Regions from separate parts of the Homo sapiens genome. Here region 1 is linked to region 2. Evidence: promoter capture Hi-C in 16 types of primary human blood cells and fetal thymus (Javierre and others, 2016). All regions are on one chromosome and are shown on one strand. The core of a region is centred on a gene start or on the middle of the fragment in contact, and the rest is flanking DNA. Distances in the headings are between cores, read along the strand shown. Region 1 overlaps MYLK-AS1 (MYLK antisense RNA 1). Region 2 holds the start of KPNA1 (karyopherin subunit alpha 1).

What was found. The method cuts DNA at HindIII sites, captures the fragments that hold promoters and counts their contacts. A CHiCAGO score of 5 or more calls a contact.
Region 1: a contact is called between a fragment that was not itself captured here and the fragment with the promoter of KPNA1 in region 2, in 1 of 17 cell types (fetal thymus). The highest score is 5.1, in fetal thymus.

Annotation. Positions count from the first base shown.
Region 1 is chr3:123,586,611-123,592,819 of GRCh38, reverse strand. All of the region lies in intron 2 of MYLK-AS1 (MYLK antisense RNA 1), which reads right to left. Among named protein-coding and RNA genes, the nearest start is that of MYLK-AS1, 4.2 kb to the right of the region's middle. RefSeq lists a silencer at 1,792-1,992. The HindIII fragment of the contact is 1,187 bases long and covers 2,108-3,294 here.
Region 2 is chr3:122,512,426-122,518,777 of GRCh38, reverse strand. It overlaps KPNA1 (karyopherin subunit alpha 1), which reads left to right and starts at 3,839. Exons shown (of 14, transcript NM_002264.4): 1 at 3,839-4,021. LOC107984000 (a long non-coding RNA gene) reads right to left here and starts at 3,749. Exons shown (of 2, transcript XR_924403.3): 1 at 3,650-3,749; 2 at 1,420-1,753. RefSeq lists a silencer at 3,872-4,561. The HindIII fragment of the contact is 3,104 bases long and covers 3,450-6,352 here.

The sequences.
Region 1 (6,209 bases), core at 1,452-3,951, 1.1 Mb before region 2:
GGCAAGGAACAAGGGATTATTAAAAATGACCAGACAGATTTGAAAGGTTTATGTATTGTTTAGGAAGATGATAAAGTACTGATTAATATTAGACTTTAATGAGTTAATGATCCATGCTGTAATTTCTATGGTAACCAGTAAAAGAAGAGAAGCAAGATGTACAAATTCCAGTAAGTAGAGGGGGAAGAATAAGTGATATTTTAAAAATTATAAATGCAAAAAAGGAGTGATACGGTTTAGCTGTGTGTCTCCAACCAAATCTCATCTCAAATTGTAATCATCACGTGTTGAGGGAGGGACTGGTGGGAGGTGATTGGATCATGGGGATGGTTTCCCTCATGCTGTTCTAGTGATAGTGAGTTCTCACGAGGTCTGATGTTTATAAGTGTTTGGCAGTTCCTTCTTTGCTCTCTCTCTCTCTCTCCTGCTGCCTTGTGGAGAAGGTGCTTGCTTCTCCTTTGCTGTCCACCATTGTATTAGTCCCTTCTCACACTGCTATGAAGAAATATCTGAGACTAGGTAATTTATAAAGGAAAGAGGTTTAGTTGACACAGTTCTGCATGGCTGGGGAGGCCTCAGGAAACTTACAATCATGGTGGAAAGGGAAGCCAACATATCCTTCTTCACATGGCAGCAGGGGAAGTGCCAGATGCTTATAAAACCATCAGAGCTTGTGAGTCTCACTCACTATCCCAAGAACAGCATAGAGGTAACCGCATCCACGATTCAATTACCTCCCACTGGGTCCCTCCTACAACACATGGGGATTATGGGAACTAAAATTCAAGATGAGATGTGGGTGGAAACACAGCGTAATTGTATCAACCATGATTGTAAATTTCCTGAGGCCTCCCAAGCTATGCAGAACTGTGAGTCAATTAAACATCTTTTCTTTATAAATTACCCAGTCTCAGGTAGTTCTTTATCGAAGTGTGAAAATGGACTAATACAGAAGATTGGTACTGGGAGTGGGGCACTGCTATAAAGATACCTCAATATGTTGAAGCAAGTGTGGAACTGGGTAACAGCAGAGGTCAGAACAGTTTGGAGGGCTCAGAAGAAGACATGGGGAAGATGTGGGAAAGTTGGGAACTTCCTAGAGAATTGTTGAATGATTTTGACCAAAATGCTGATAGTGATATGGACAATGAAGTCCAGGCTGAGATGGTCTTAGATGGAGACGAAGAACTTATTGGGAACTGGAGCAAAGGTCACTCTTGCTATGCTTTAGCAAAGAGACTGACAGCATTTTGCCCCTGCCTTAGAGATCTGTGGAACTTTAAACTTGAGACAGATGATTTAGGGTATCTGGTAGAATAAACTTCGAAGCACCAAAGCATTCAAGATGTCACATGGCTTTTTCTGAAAGCAAACGGTCACATGCGTTCACAAGGAGATGATCTGAAATTGGAACTTATGTTTAAAAGGGAAGCAGAGCATAAAAGTTTGGAAAATTTGCAGCCTGACCATGCAGTAGAAAACAAAGACCCATTTTCCAGGGAGATATTCAAGCAGGCTGCAGGAATTTGCACAAGTAACAAGGAGCTGAATGTTAATAGCTGAGACAATGGGGAAAAATGTCTCCAGGGAATTTCAGAGATCTTCAGGACAGCCCCTCCCATCACAGACCTAGAGGCCTAGGAGGGAAAAATAGTTTCCTGGGCTAGGCAGGCCCAGGGCTCTACTGCTGTGTGCAGCCTCAAGACATGGTGCCCTGTGTCCCAGCCACTCCACCTCATGGCTAAAAGGGGCCAAGGTACAGCTTGGGCCATTGCTTCAGAGGGTACAAGCCCCAAGCCCTGGCAGCTTTTATGTGGTGTTGGGCCTGCAAGTGTGCAGAAGCCAAGAGTTGAGGTTTAGAAACCTATGCCTAGATTTCAGAGGATGTATGGAAATGACTGGATGTCCAGTCAGAAGTCTGCTGCATGGGCGGAGCCCTCATGGAGAACCCCTACTAGTGCAGTGCAAAAGGGAAATGTGGGGTTGGAGCATCCACACAGAGTCCCCACTGGGGCAATACCTAGTGGATCTGAGAATAGGGCCACTGTCCTCCAGACCCCAGAATGGTAGATCCACCAACAGCTTGCACCCTGGACCTGGAAAAGCTTCAGGCACTCAACTCCAGCCCATGAAAGCAGCCTTTGGGACTGTACCCTGCAGAGCCACATGGCAAGAGCTGCCCAAAGCCTTAGGAGCTCACCTCTTCAATCAGCATGCACTGGATGTGAGACATGGAGTCAAAGGAGAGTATTTAAGAGGTTTAATATTTAATGACTGCCCAACCAGGTTTCAGACTTGCATGGGGCCTGTGGCCCCTTTGTTTTGGCCAATTTCTCCCATGTGGAATGAGAACATTTACCCAATGCCTGTACCCCCATTGTATCTTGGAAGTAACTAACTTGTTTTTGATTTTACAGGCTTGTAGGTGAAAGAGACTTGCCTTGTCTCAGATCAGACTTTGAACTTGGACTTTTGAGTTAATGCTGAAATGAGTTAAGACTTTGGGGTACTGTTGGGAAGGTATGATTGGAATAGCATGTGCAAATTCCCTGAGGCAAAAAAGGAGTACTGCTCGATGGAAGACCTAAGATGAGGCCAGTATGACTAGGAGGGGCATGGTGAGACTGAGGAGGCAGGTAGGGTCTAGTCTATGCAGATTTTTGTATACCATATTAAATATTTTATGCTTTATCCTAAGTGTCATCAAAAGCCATTTAAATATCTTCAGGGGTGGGGCAGAGGAAGGTAGTAGACACGAACAAGGTTGTATGTGGAAAAGATCACTTTGGCTGTACTGTAGAGCAGGGGTCCCCAACCTCTGGGCCACAGACTGGTACAGGTCCATGGCCTGTTAGGAACCCAGCCACACAGCAGGAGGTGAGCAGCAGGCAAGTGAGCATTACCACCTGATCTCCACCTCCTGCCAGACCAACAGCGGCATTAGATTCTCATAGGAACACGAGCCCTATCATGAACCATGCAGGCGAGGGATCTAGGTTGCAGGCTCCATCTAATGCCTGCTGATCTGAAGTGAAACAGTTTCATCCTGAAACCATTCCCTCCCCAGTCCATGGAAAAATTGTCTTCCATGAAACCAGTCCCTGGTGCCAAAAAGGTTGGAGATTGCTGCTATAAACAACAGACTGGAGTTGGGCCTAAGTGACTGCAAGAAGATACATTGAGTTTTAAACTGATTTCCAACTGAACAGAACTTTATGCATTCCTGCCTCCTCCTACTTTCCCATTAAGTAGATTATATTGAAAAAAAAATCAGTCAAATGAATGAAAGAAGCTTTTAGATGAATGATTATTTGGTTTTGTAAAATGGTTCACTTCTTTATTTCTTTTGCAAAGAAATTTTTTTGCCCTCTGATCACAGTGTGCAATTTGGGCTCACCAACTTGCTCTTTGAAAAATTCAGGAAGGTCGGGTGTGGTGGTTCATGCCTATAATCCCAGCATTTTGGGAGGCCGAGGCAGGTGGATCACCTGAGGTCACGAGTTCGAAACCAGCCTGGCCAACATGGCAAAATCCCGTCTCTACTAAACATACAAAAATTAGCTGGGCGTGGGGGCAGGCACCTGTAATCCCAGCTACTTGGAAGGCTGAGGCAGGAGAATTGCTTGAACCTGGGAGGCGGAGGTTGCAGTGAGCCAAGAGTGTGCCATTGCACTCCAGTCTGGGGGACAAGAGCAAGACTTCGTCTCCAAAAAAAAAAAATTTCAGGAAAACAAGGCAACAGAATCTCTGAACAATCTGCCATGGCGGGAAAGGATGGGACCCTGACAATTGTCAACTTATGCCTCTCACTTCATCTCTTGAGGTCTTGAAACTTCTTTTGCAAAAATTGTAACAGTGAGAAAATTATGACTGAGAGAGATCTGATCTAACCAGCCCCCACCTTGACTCTGTAAATCAAAGAACACGATCAAGGCAAGTCTCAATCATTTTAGGAGGTTTATTTGCCATAGTAAAGGATGCATGCCAGGGAGGCAGGTATATGCCTATCTCCAAAGATGATTTTGAGGGCTTCAGTACTTAAAGGGGAAAGGGTGGATACTGGGGGAAGAGAAATTTTTTTTTTTTTTTGAGACAGAGTCTCGCTCTGTCACCAGGCTGGAGTGCAGCGGCGCAATCTCGGCTCACTGCAACCTCCAACTCCAAGCGATTCTCTTGCCTCAGTCTCCCAAGTAGCTGGGACTACAGGCGCGCACCACCACACCCAGCTAATTTTTGTATTTTTAGTAAAGATGGGGTTTCACCATACTGGCCAGGCTGGTCTCAAACTCCTGACCTCCTGATCTGCCTGCCTGGCCTCCCAAAGTGCTGGGATTACAGGCGTGAGCCACCACGCCCAGCCAAGAAATATTTTTAAATTGTGTCAGTAGATAAAAAGATAAAACAGTTGCATCCTTTTGAATACACAATTTTCATGTGAGTGGGGAGTGGAGGAAATATTCATGCCTTAGTCTGGCTCAGTTAATCTGTATTTTTACATAAGATAACGTAGACAATAGGGCAGAGGAAGCAATCAGATATGCATTTGTCTCAGGTGAGGAGAGGGAAGACTTTGAATTCTGTCCTATGTCCCATACCTGTGAAGATATCAACTTACATTGCCAGGTTGAAATTCAACAGAACTGTTTTAGAGTAAAGATCTTTGGGCCTAAAAGGAATTTCCTTGTGGGTAAAATGTGAGGGAAGTATATAGCTTTTATCTTTGTAGCTATCTTATTTAGGAACCAAATGGGAGGCAGGTTTGTGTGACCCAGTTCCCAGCTTGACTTTTCCCTTTGGCTCAGTGAATCTGGGGTTTTCCTTTCTCATCTTTAACCTCCAAAACTGCCCTTGGTCATTCCTGGGCTTGCACCAAGCTAACTTTGGGAGAAACTTAGTTTACAGTTTAAGCGATAATAGCCCCTCCCCAAAACTAAACCACTTTTGTAAAACTAATGAAAAGCCACCAGGTTAGAAGGATAAGAGGAGCTTGAATTCTGCTAAGACATAGGCTTTGTTAAGTTAAATGATTACCAGCCACTATTCCAGAGGTCACTAGATTTGCAGCTTCCCCAGTTCACTACTGTAGAACCTAAGATTGGCCTTTTGAGATAAACTTTCAGGCTTCTGCATTTCGGATGGCTGACGACCCCACTGAGACCTTTGACTCTTGGCTCAACCAGTCCTGTGGCCTCCACCCAGAAGCAGGCTCAGTGCAGGGGGACCATTTTCCACACCCCTATAATTGCATTCCCAACCAATCAGCAGCACCCATTCCTCCAGCCTCCTGCCTGCCAAACTGTGTGTGTGTTGGGGGGGGGGTGGGTGTTTTGTTTTGTTTTGTTTTGACTATAGCTCTCAGATCTTAGCCAAACTATTCTTGAAAAACCCTACCCTCTGAATTTTGGGGGAGATTTGGAGTAATAACTCCATCTCCAAGACCTATCTCATGTCAATTAAATTCTTTATTGCAATGCCATGGTCTCTATGAATTGATTTTGTCTGTGCAGTGGGAAGGAAGAACGTATTGGGTGATTACAGTGTCATGGATTTAAATACCACCACCACCCTCAGAACTCTGAGAAAAGATAATACCTCAAACAGCTCTGAGCTGTCTGAGCTATGTGAAGTATGCAAAAATTTATCAGGCCCAGAGACAAGAGTTTGCCTGGGGGCAACTGTTTAGACATTTTGTTCCTGACTAGCAGCCTCACCCATTATCTTCATGTTCCTGGAATCTGTGATACAAAGAATAGTTTATAGCCAATCAATAGCTAATGTAATTTTAATGTAAATTCTTAGTAAACAACTTAGAAGCTGCCTCTTTTTCCTTTAAAAACCCACTCATAACCGCTGCTAATCAGAGTGTATATTTAGGGTAACTTGAATCTATGCTCCCAGGTAGCCATCTTCAACCTTTATGCTTGAATAAACTTCCTTTAAACTAGATTCTTACCTTTTTTATTATTTTAGGTTGACAACTCTCAAATTTATATCTCTAGCCCATTGGACTTCCTTCCCGAACCTCAGGGTCTAAATTTAATTGTCTATCCAGCCTCTCCACTTGGATGTTTAATAAGGATTTCAAATTCAACATATAAAAAACAAAATTCCCGACTTCCGCCTTAAAAATGGTTTCTTACAAGTTGCTCAAAACGCCTTTGACCTCACACTCCAAAACTAACATATCCACAAATCTTATAATTCTACTT
Region 2 (6,352 bases), core at 2,590-5,089:
GCAAATTAAACAGAACTTTCTGGATTTCTTTACTACAGCTGTAAACTTACTTGAAATCTAACTTCAATTTTATAAGCTCAATTTTTTTGTTGTTGTTTTGCTGAAGAGTTAGAAGTGCATAAACCATTTTCTCTGGGGAAATGAGGTTTAACTGAGGATGACATCCAATGTGCTTCAGAGTGTTTAAAAATGATAGTCATTTCACATATGGAAAGCCTACATGGTTAATTTATAGATGCACAGGACATGACTGATAGACAAACAGCAGGTTTACCTGAATATACAAAGTGGATGGACCTTTCGGAGAGCTGGAAACGAATTCCTACAAGTTTAAAAATGTGCTGTGCTAGTAAATAAAATCCTAAGTATTTTGTGCTCCAACAATTTTGTTTATAGAATATTTAGCTTTATGTTTTTACTTTGACAACAGAAGCAGTGTAATGTAGGCAGAGGAGCAAAGCTGCAAGTCAAAATTAGTTTTATGTTTGACTGTATTCAGTTTTACTATCACACAAAAGAAAAGAAAAACGTCCTAAAGATCCCAAGTAGTTCAGAAAAGTACTAATGGAAAAGGAAACAGAAAGAATAAAAATATCTCAAGCTATCATGGGACAGAAAGAAATATGTCATTATTTTTTATTTAATATAGGTAATATCTATCTCATTAGTTCTATTGTATACATTCTTTAAAAAATTCTTACACTTATTTATCTCAAGAATATAGGATGATATAGCCTACAAAATTCAAATATGCAATAGAGCTAAATTGCTATACCAGAGGAAAGAAAGAAACCTTATGAAATTGTTGCATTTTTCTCATACATATTATTTGCTTAATTAGTCTCTCTATTTATTACTACTAGTTGCTTTTTTTTTTTTTTTTTTGAGACAATATCTTGCTCTGCCACCCACGCTGAAGTGCAGTGGTGTGCTCAGACTCCTGGTCTCAAGTGATCCTCCCACCTCAGTCTCCTGAATAGCTGGGATTACAGGTGCGACTCACCATGCCCGACTAATTTTTTTGTGTGTTGAGATGGGGGTCTTGCTATGTTGCCCAGGCTGGTCTGGAACTCCTGGGTTCAAGTGATCCTCCTGCCTCAGCCTCCCAAAGTGCTGGGATTACAGGCATGAGCCACTGTTCCCAGCCTGCTATTTTATTTAATTGCATTTATGCAACAGAAAAGAAATACAACAGAATGCATAATTCTAAGTAAATATCTATTTTTCATGTTTTTATGTTCAAGTAATTTATATGTTAGATTGGCAAAAATTTAAAAAGCCAGACATTTCTAACTGTTAGCAAGTGAAGAGTATCTTATATACCGTTTCTAGAGTACAAATTGGTACAATCACTTTATGAAATAATCCAGCAATGTCTAGTGTATTAGTTTTCTATTGTATAATAAATTACCATAAACATAGTATCTTAAGACACATTTATTATCTCACAGTTTCTGTAGACCAGGAGTCTACGCACAGTTTATCTGTTTTCTTTGCTCAGGGTCTCACAAAACTGCTATCAAGGTTTAAGTCAGGCTGTCTTCTCATCTGGAGGCCACCTCTCAGGTTGTTGGCAGAATTCATTTCCTTGTGGTTGTGTGACTGAGGGCCCTGGCTTCTTACTGGTTGTCAGCTGCAGGCTGCGCTCAAGTTCTAGAAGCCGTCTGCAGTTCCCTGCCATTTAGTTTTCTCCATAGGCAGTTCGCAACATGACAGCTTGCTTCTTCAAGGCCAGCGAATCTCTAGCTCCAGTCTGGAAAGACAGTCTTATATAATGAAACGGAATCATGGGAGTGACATTCTATCACCTTTGCCATATTCTGTTGGCTAGAAGTAAGTCAAAGGTCCCACCTACACTCAAGGGGTGGAGATTATATAGGCAACACCAGGGACCAGAGATTATGGGGGCCATCTTAGATTTCTGCCTGATACATATAGTAAGGTTAAAGATGCAATGTCCTAGGATCTAGCAGTTTCCCTATACACAGTAGAGATGTACAAGAATGTTCACAGCAGCATTGTTTGTGACAGTAAAAAATACTGTTCTATACTTTCAAATTTCTCAAACTATAAAATGATATTGTCAGAGAGACAGTAGCTTATAAAACACCATGTATGGTATGATAACATTTTTGTAAAAGTAACATACATAGGAATTCAACTTCCAGCAATGGCCTACTGTTGTTTTCAATCAACCTTTCCACTACAGAGAACAACTGAACAAAATATAAAAACGTTAATGTACTGAAGAGCTACCAAGGAAGTGAGAATTTGTGAGTGCAAGGTCTGGAAGAAAAAGGAAGCCACCAGAGGTTAGCCTGATATTTGCCATCATTTTTCCAAAGCTAAGGTGATTGCTGACTCTGAAAGCAGTGGCTGAAACAGGGAGAAGAGCTTATGGCTGTCTCATGGGGCTTAGAAGGCCCACCAAAGAGAAGAGGCCCTAGTAAATACCCCAGACTTTTGGATGGGACCATCAAGGACTAGCTAGGAATAAGGGTGAACCGGAAATAAATTAGCTTTCCCAAAGACTGAAGACCGGCTCTGAATAATCAGTCTTAGTTCCTTATTGGAATAAGGTGATCTGTCTTCAGTCTAGCTGTGGTCAGGCAAACTTGCCCTTAAGTCTCTCCTGTTGAACACACCTTCCCTTTCCCCAGCCCCCTTGCTCAAACTCAACTCTGATCTTAGTAAACACAACATCAGCGGGAGAATGCTGATGCAGCAGAGAGAAGTCCAGGACAAATGAACATTGCATAACCTAGGATTCAGGTAGAGTGGTCCTCTCTCCTCTCCTCTTCCCTGGGACATTTATAAATGTATTAATCTACCTCATCTCTTTCACCTTGCTTCTTGGCATGTGTTTTAAATCTGTCTACTATTCCGTGATCCCTGCTAGGCTGGCTTCAGTTTTTCTTCTTTTGAAGCCACTACTCCATTTGCTCCCCCAAAGAATTCCATGAAATTTAACATTAGCAATCATTTGCTCCAAGTTTTCGTTTGAGAGCAGTTGAGAGTAAAACGAGTATGTGTTTCATGTAGTTTCATTATTATTATTATTATTATTGTTATTATTATTTTTGAGGCAGGGTCTCACTCCGGTTGCCCAGGCTGGAGTGTAGTGGCGCGATCTCGGCTCACTGCAGTCTCACCGTCAACCCCGGGCTCAGGTGATTCTCCCACCTCAGCCTCCCGAGTAGCTGGGACTTCAGGCGCCCGTCACCACCCCCTGCTAATTTTTGTGTTTTTAGTAGAGACGGGGTTTCGCCATGTTGCCCAGGCTAGTCTCAAAACTCCTAGCCTCAAGTGATCCACCCACCTCGGCCTCCCAAGGTGCTGGGATTACAGGTGTGAGCCACCGCGCCCGGCCCTTAATTATTTTTGATACTACGCATACGTTATCAAGCAAAGGGGATGGGAGATAACTAAAAAAGGAATGTCCAGAAGCTTCCTGCATTCATGCTGCATGTGAGCCCTTTAGACACGAGGCGCTGACCTACTAATTTTGTAATACTCCCTCAGCCTTCAATCATTCCATCATTCATTCCATCAACGCGTATTAGGTACTTAGAAGCTATACAGAGGTGAGCATCGATCCGCCCTGGAAGAGCTTAGCAAAGACAGGTTTGTACATATAACTTTCTCCAACCTTTGCCATGGTCTGCAAACCTCCTTCTTAGCGAGACCCCCTCCCCGACCCCCGACTCTTCACAGGCTGGGCGCTAACCATTAGGAATGTCCGGCGAGAGAGCGTTACAAGACTACGTCTCCCGGCAGCCTCTGCGACAAGCGCCGGAGGGGCGCGCGTAGGCGCTCGGGCCGGCCCCCGCACGCAGGCGCACTGCGAACGCCGGCTGAGCTGAGTCTCGCTGCTCGGTGCGAGGCGGCGGAGAGCGAGGCCTGGTGAGCACCGCCGAGGCGCGGGCCAGCTCTTCGAGGTTGTGCGCGGGAGTGGCACGGCGGGCGGGCGAGCGAGGGGCTAACTTCAGCGGTGGCACCGGGATCGGTTGCCTTGAGCCTGGTGAGTGCTGGGGCCTTGCGGCCCCGGCCCCTCCCCCTCCCGCCGGCAGATCCGGGCAGTCCCGGAGGGACTCAGGAGAGGCCCTGGGGCGAGGGCGGGTGCCGGCAGGGCCTAGAGCCGGGGTTCCTGGGCCGGACGCTCGCGCCGCGTCCGTGCGTCACGGGCCCGGCTGTCCTAACGGCCACAAGGCCGGCGGAGGAGAGGGTGGGGGTGGGGAGCCCTGGTGTGATCGCCATCGGGAACGCCGGTCGAGGCTAGGCGGGGCGGGGCGGCGTGGCGCGGCGGCGGGGCTGTAAGCGGCGCCGGGGACTGCGGGGCGCCGAGGCAGCGGGCGGAGAGGAGGCGAGCGCGGAGCCTGCGCCGCGGCCGGGCGGCGGGCGGGAGGCGGGGGTGGGCCGCGCAGAGCGCTGTGACAGAGGCAGGAAGGAGCAGGGGTGGCGTGTAAAAATTCTAACCCTGGCAAAAAGGGACCGTCTTGGGAATTCACAAGTTACAGACCGGGTCGGAGCCGGCGGCCCGGAGGGAGGTGGGGGAAGCGGGGGGTGGAGACGGCCGGCTGCAGTTTACCGATGTCATAACAACATGGGCCTGGAGCGGCTGATCGGGGGTGTGGTAATTATAGCAATGACAGAACTTGGTCTGCACGCCGCGTGTGCGATGCGAGGGAAGCAGCGAGGTATCGGATTAAGCTCAAAACGGGAGGAGGAAACAAGGATGACTGGAGTCAAGGAAGTCGTCATGAAGTAATGTTTTAGGATTGGGTCGTGTTCCACTTTTAAATGAAAGCGTTCAAAATATTTGATTTTTAAGGTTTCAACTCAGAACAAACGATTGCCGAGTTTTTGTTTGTATTTTAAAGAGATGGGGTCTCGCTATATTGCCCAGGCTGTACTCCAACTCCTGAGCTCAAACTGTCCTCTTGCCTCAGCTTCCCAAGTAGCTGGGACTAGTCTTGGGCAACCACACCCAGCTCTGCAGAGTATTTTTTTTTCTGAAACGTACTGTCAAGTAATATTAACTTGAATTTCACCCTTTTTTCTTAAATAAACGGTTGCTTAAAAATCTCTATTAGTAGATGAAGTGATTTCCCCCCTCCTGTTTTGTTTTTTTTTTTCTTAAGAGATGGAGTCTTGCTTTGTTTCCCGGGCTGATCTGGAACTCCTGGCCTCAAGGCATCCTCCCTACTAGCTGGAACTACAGGCGGATGCCACCAGCAAGGCTCATTCTCGACATTGTTTTTGTCTTAACTAGCTTTTGCATTTGTAATATTTTGAAAGCAGTACACAAGTTATTTTTCCCTCCTTTTTAAAGATCAAAGAGATGAAAATTTAATTTTTCAAAGGAAAGTAAGAATGAGTTCTGTTGTATTTTTACTGAAATATTCTTGGAAGACACTGTTTTATGGATAGATGAGACGTAAGAGAAAGTAAAGGAATTAACATTTATTGAGTTCTTTTTTCAGGTATTGTGTTAAATGCTTTACATATATTAAAAACATTTGAATCTGAAGTATCTGTTAATTTTTCTATTTTACAGATGAAAGCATTGACAATCAAATGTTAAGTAACTTACCTAAGGTCTTCCAGTTCTTGTTGAGAACAACCTTAGAACCCAAAGTTACTGCCATTTAAATTATTTCTCTCCTTTCATACTTTTTCGTTGTTTTCTTTATTTAATCCGTTCAATCAGCGAATACTTACAGAGTGATCTTCTAGACTTGGGGGGATATAGTCGCGATCAAAACTCACTGTCCCTGTTCTCATGGAATTTATAGTGTAGCAGGGAAAGCTAATATTACAAATATTGACTGCATAACATTTTGTCAGTTATTATAGTTGAGTAGCAACTGTAAAGCACTCTACTAAATAGTAAAGGCAGTTCAAATGGAAGCAGACAACATAAGCCTTGAGGAGTTTACAGTCCTGTAGGGCAACAAAACATACATTTATGAAAACCTAGAATAAACTAAATTAGAAAGGTATCACCTGAAATCACTATACTTGCATTATGGTATTTTTTATTTTATTTATTTATTTTTTTGGATGCTTGCTCTGTTGCCCAGGCTGGGCAGTGACGCGATCTCGGCTTACTGCAGCCTCTGCCTCCCTGGTTCAAGCAGTTCTCCTGCCTGAGACTGCCTGAGTAGCTGGGACTACAGGGGCATGAGGCCACACTCGGCTAATTTTTTGTATTTTAGTAGAGACGGGTGGTTTCACCGTCTTGCCCAGGCTGGTCTCGAACTCCTGAGCTCACGCAATCCGCCCTCCTCGGCCTCCCGAAGTTCTAGGATTACAGGCATGAGCCACCGCGCCCAGCCGCATTATGTTACTT